Regions from separate parts of the Homo sapiens genome. Here region 1 is linked to region 2. The links are contacts of gene promoters, found by promoter capture Hi-C in blood cells and fetal thymus (Javierre and others, 2016). All regions are on one chromosome and are shown on one strand. Each heading gives the region's core, a stretch centred on a gene start or on the middle of the fragment in contact. The rest is flanking DNA. Distances are from core to core; before and after follow the strand shown.

Region 1 (2,703 bases), core at 137-2,636, 800 kb before region 2:
ACAAAGATTCCCCGACCTGGAAACCTGGTTACTAAAAGATGTATCTATATATCTATACTTTCATTTCACTGCTAACCCAAATTCTAATTGGTTTAATCGAGTTTCCCAGGCAAAGTAGGTTAGATGCAGCAAAAGTAAGGGCAGCATTTCTGGAGGCAGCATTCTGCCCAAACCATGAAATGGCAGCCACAGAAAGAGACAAACCTTATGCAAAACAAACAGGAGAACTAAAAAAGCCTGGAGGCCAGATGACTCGGTGAAGGCTCAGCGACTGTCTGCACCCCAGCAGGTCCTGAAGACAGTACTGTGTTAGACAACAGTACTGATCAGAATTACAAGCAAAAGTCACCAAGAAAAGACTATATTCTGGTTAGAAAGTGTTCAATTCAAAACATTCTTGGAGACTGACTCCCAAAAGGAGAAGCACACTCCACAGAGAATTCACTTACCTAGAACAGGTAACTTCCTAACAAGATAGGATAAATGATAATGTGCTGTTCCAATCACTCAATTTTATGTTAGTTTCAATACAACTTTAAGTACACGTGTACAACTTTAAGTACACATTTACCACCTTAAAAACAAACAATGAGGCAATCACTTAGTCATGCCTAGCCATATAGCTGAGCTGTTATTTTAATGACTCACTCAACTGCTAAGCTTCTCTCGGTTGGTCCAACGGAGCTAAATAAATCAACAGCTACTTCACAAGTGAACTTTTAGTATTTTCCAGAACCAAGACAGAAATCTGAGATGCTTTGCTTACACTTCCCAGTTTCCCCAAAAGATCCCAAAAAGTGATTCTTTGATGGATTTTATGCTTCAGAAAAATAAGTTTCAACACAGCTCATGTGTGAATGACACCTCTATGTTCATTTCTGGTTCCTTCCTCAATCAGGTTCCTAAAATTAGTTGTCCCTCTAAGGGAGCTATAATTTTTATGAGAAACCTTTGAGGATTTTAGTTGTAGTTATACTAAAATTTCCCACTGAAACATACTCATAACATGAAACTGAAATTATTTATGGACCCTTAAAATACAAATCACCTTTATTCAAACTCATTTCATTTTATCTTCAAACTTGCCTCCAAAATCCTACTGACTACTAAATTGTAGCATGTTTTTTGAGCAAATTAGTAAACATCTTTAGCTGTTCTAGTTATTAAAAAGACACTTTGGATTCCTGTAATGTGTTTTTTTTGTTGTTGTTGCTGTTTGAGACGGAGTTTTGCTCTTGTCACCCAGGCTGGAGTGCAGTGTTGTGATCTCAGCTCACTGCAACCTTTGCCTCCCGGGTTCAAGCAATTCTCCTGCCTCAGCCTCCCAAGTAGCTGGAATTACAGGCGCTCGCCACCACACCCAGCTAATTTTTGTATTTTTAGTAGAGACGGTGTTTTGCCATGTTGGCCAGGCTGGTCTCAAACTCCTGACCTCAGGTGATCCACCCACCTCAGCCTCCCAAAGTGCTGGGATTACTTTTTAAATAATGAATTCTTAGAATTTCTGCATCTTGAGCAATTGATACACATAACAATGCGGATGTATCTCAAGGCTGAGTGAAAAAAAATCTCAATTTTATTGAGAAGACACACAGGTGTAGATTCACACTCACTAGTGCATGTATAGTTGGTGCAATCTCAACAGGTCAGGGGATTTGATCAAAGAAAATTCCCCACATATACTATGGTTTTGCAAGGTGCTACCATTGGAGAAAACAGGGCAAAGGCACTCTGTAGGATTTCTCTGTATTACTCCTTACAACTTCATGTGATCTACAACCATCTCAAAATAAAAAGGTTTTCAAATTCTACCTAAGACCAGGTGCGGTGGTTAATGCCACTGCTGTATTACGACACAATTATCTGTATTCCCAGCGCTCTGGGAGGCTGAGGTGGGCGAACTGCTTGAGGTCAGGAGTTGGAGATCATCCTGGGCAACACAGCAAGACCCTGTCTCTATTAAAAATGAAATAATTAGCCGGGCGTGATGCTCCCTGTGGCCCCAGCTCCTGGGGAGGCTGAGGCGGGAGAATCGCTTGAGCCTTGACCAGCCACTGCACTCCAGCCTGGGCGACAGCAAAACTCTGTCTCAACAACCACAAAAAAGCTTTAGAATATTTAAGTCAAGCCTGTAGGAGAAAAAAACTACAAATATTTCACAAGTAATCCAATCATTAAGACACTCCTTTTGAAAAAGCCGGTAAATAAGATAAATTTGGAAGACAGAATAATCAGAAAAACAGGCAGTGAATAGGGACCCGATACGCAGCGGTCTTGCTTCCCCCGCGCAGGCGTCCACACCCTGGGTCATGGACACCGTGAGGAGCCGTTAGGAGTCACAGGAGGGGGGCCAGGGACAGGGCTGCATCTCTGCGGCCGGCCCTGGAGGCCCCGAGTCCACCCGGGCGGCCAGGGTGGGAACGCAGGTTCCATTCCAGGTTAGAACGTGGGCCTCAGCGAAGAGCGCCTAGGCAAGGCCTGGAGGAGCGGGACCCCAGGCCACACAGACCACCCGACCCCGGGAGACAATACCTGCAAGAAAAGGGGAGCCCCGAGGAGAGAGAGAGGGGAGGTGAGCCCCAGGGAGGGAGAGAGAGGAGGGGAGCCCCAGGGAGGGAGGGAAGGAAGGAAGGGGACCCCTGGGAAGGGAAGAAGGGAATGGGAGCCCCGGGGAGGGAGAGAGGGGAGCCCCAGGGAGGGAGG
Region 2 (2,700 bases), core at 201-2,700:
ACACCCTTTTTTTTTTTTTTTTTTGATACAGAGTCTCGCTCTGTCACCCAGGTTGGAGTGCAGTGGCTCGATCTCGGCTCATTGCAACCACCGCCTCCCGGGTTCAAGCGATTCTCCTGCCTCAGCCTCCTGAGTAGCTGGGATCCCAGGCGCCTACCACCACGCCCGGCTAATTTTCGTATTTTTTAGCAGAGACGGGGTTTCACCATGTCGGTCCGGCTGGTCTCAAACTCCTGACCTCGTGATCCGCCCGCCTCGGCCTCCAAAAGTGCTGGGATTACAGGCGTGAGCCACCGCGCCCGGCCACACACCCCTTTTTACACCTAACGCCAGGGATTCCGGTTTCCCCTCCTCTGGTGTAAAACAAAATCAACTTTTCCCCTTCCGAGTCTTCCCTCCTGAGCTCTTCACTTGCTTATCACTGAAGGGGCAAATTCCAGAGGAACCCAAGAAGACCCCGGACTTCTGATCTAATTGGTTACTTTAAGGTAAAAAATAAAAAGATTCCAAACTCCGCTTCTGAATCCCCCAGGGGTGTTAAAGAACAAACACAATTGCTACCTTTTTCTGCAGAAGTGTAACGCTTCCTCCCAATCCCTTAATCTTACAGACACGGCTGCGCGGAAGCCGCATCTGAAGGTTCCTCCCCAGACCCGGGCCCCGGCGGGGTCGAAGTTGGCTCCCTCCGGGCGCCCGGTCCGCCGGGACAGCTCGAACCCCAGCCAGCCTCTCCGAGGGACCCCCAGGGCGCTGCGGGCGGGAAGGGGGCGCCAGGCGGCCGCGGCCAGGGAGCAGGTGGCCGCCCGGGGCTGGGGCCCCGCGCTGTGCCCACCTAGACCCCGTCGGAAGCCCCAGGGTGTCAACTCCGAGGCCCCTCCCCAGCATCCCGCTCGTCCCCGGGGGCGGTCCGAGTCCCAGACATCGGAGACCTCCCGGGACCCCGGGGCTGGACCGGCCACAGGGTCCGGGCTGCGGGGCCGGCCCGCGTCTGTCTGGTCCCCGGGTCCCCCAGCCCGCGCCGGGAGCACTCACGTATCTGTGCACGAGCGTCCGCACGAGGCTGCAGTCCATGGCTCCTCCGGCCGCTCCCGCTCCGCCGTTCAGCGCCCCCGCGCCCGGCTCGGCGCGCCCATGGGCTCCGGGGTACTAGTGCGGCCGCGCCCCCCGCTCCGGTCACGGCCTCGGCGCGCCGGGCGGTGCAGGGGGCGGCCGCGGCCCCTCCGCGCTCATGCCCGGCCCGGCCGGCGAATGCTGGGTCCGCGGCCCCGCGCGTCGGCAGCTGCTCCACTGGCGGCAAGGCTGCTGCTCGGGGCCGCGCGCGCGCGCTCTGGCGCCTTCTCTCTCCCCGTCGGTCCGCCCGCTCGGTTGGGCTCGGCTGGAGCACCCCGGCCGCGGCGGAGCCTGCGCTCTGCTCCTCCCGAGTCTCCTCCTCCCCTGCCCGCCGCCCTCTGGAGCCTCCGGGCCCCGCTGGCTCCTGCCCCTGCTCCGGGCGCGCACGTCACCGGCGCAAGTGAGCATGCGCCCCGCGGCCGCAGCCCCCGCCGGCCCCGCGCCCACACCCGCGCTCGCACCCGCGCGCCGGCCCTGCCCCCTCGCGCCTCCGCCCGGGCCCCAGACCCTGGGGGCAGAGGGCAGAGGGCAGAGGTCAGAGGCCGCGGGGAGGAACCCCCCTGTTGCTTCCGCCTCCCGGGGCGCAGGCGCTGGGCGCGGCGGGGAAGGGACTCGGCACTGGGGAAACCCGGAGTTTCAGCCAGGGTCCCAGGGCTTCCTTCCCGGGTTCCTGCCGGAAAACTTTTCTCCTCCGCCCGGAAGCCTCGATGGGGCAGTGAGATCGCGGGGCGAGGTGGGAGTGTGGGAGGGGGCCGCGGGCAGAGAGCGGGAGTCCGGCTGGGTGGGAGATCTCCTGAGCCGAAGCTGGGTCTCGCCCCAGCGTGGCGCCACCGACCCGCAGGCTTTTCCTGCTCTGCAGATGGAGAGACACAGGGACGCTCCTCAGGTGGCTGCCCTGGGCTGCCAGCCTGTCAGTGGGAGGGGAGGGTGCAGACAAGAGGCCCCTGTTTCCGAAACCCCTCTGTCCCCAAAGCTGCGACAGCAGAAGACACTTAGGCGGCCTGAGGGGTTGGTGAACCACAGAGGAGCTCAGCTTCGCCTGGTCTCCAGCTCCCGGTGGCGGTGGCGTGTCCTTAATGCTGCTGGCTTTGAACTGGACTGAGAACTATTTACCACACAAACACCACCATTTCAATCCCGGAGAATGCCTGTTTTCCCTAGGGTGACCTGGCCGGGGTAACAAACACTTGTTCTCTAATTCCACGGTCAGCCTTGACTTAATTGAGGTACTTGATTTCCAACTTCCTGTCTTGCTGCCACAGATAATCACTGATGAAACCAAACAGGCAACACCTTTTGGTGGCCTGTGGAGAGCGCTGCCCCGTCTGGGTCTTAGGAAGGCAATTGAATATGAATGTTCTCCCGAGTGCTTGTGGAAAAGAGATGGTGTTGGCCACTTTTTAGACGAAGAGAAATGAGTACTAGTGAACACTAATCATAGTGACTAAACAGTAAACGGCTCCCATTTGTTGTCGGCTAAAGCACTGATTCTTCATTTTCCATCCCAGCCTGTCCTGCTCTGGCCTGCCCTGTGCTCAGGAAGCTGGCGGTCCCCCTCAGTGGATCTTCACCCACAGGGACAACCTGCTG

The links. Contacts are between HindIII fragments. The CHiCAGO score rates a contact against its expected background, and 5 or more counts as called.
Region 1: a fragment that was not itself captured here is called in contact with the fragment with the promoter of ATP11A in region 2 in 1 of 17 cell types (monocytes); the score reaches 6.6 in monocytes.

What each region holds. Positions count from the first base shown.
Region 1 is chr13:113,491,414-113,494,116 of GRCh38, reverse strand. All of the region lies in intron 1 of SLC9D1 (solute carrier family 9 member D1), which reads right to left. It also overlaps a transcript of DCUN1D2 not described here. Among named protein-coding and RNA genes, the nearest start is that of SLC9D1, 1.7 kb to the right of the region's middle. The HindIII fragment of the contact is 1,447 bases long and covers 663-2,109 here.
Region 2 is chr13:112,688,788-112,691,487 of GRCh38, reverse strand. It overlaps ATP11A (ATPase phospholipid transporting 11A), which reads right to left and starts at 1,450. Exons shown (of 30, transcript NM_015205.3): 1 at 1,033-1,450. The coding sequence starts at 1,071. It overlaps LOC102725228 (a long non-coding RNA gene), which reads left to right and starts at 1,673. Exons shown (of 2, transcript NR_187633.1): 1 at 1,673-1,825; 2 at 2,619-2,700. RefSeq lists silencers at 658-897, 918-1,847 and an enhancer at 2,096-2,613. The HindIII fragment of the contact is 3,702 bases long and covers 1-2,700 here.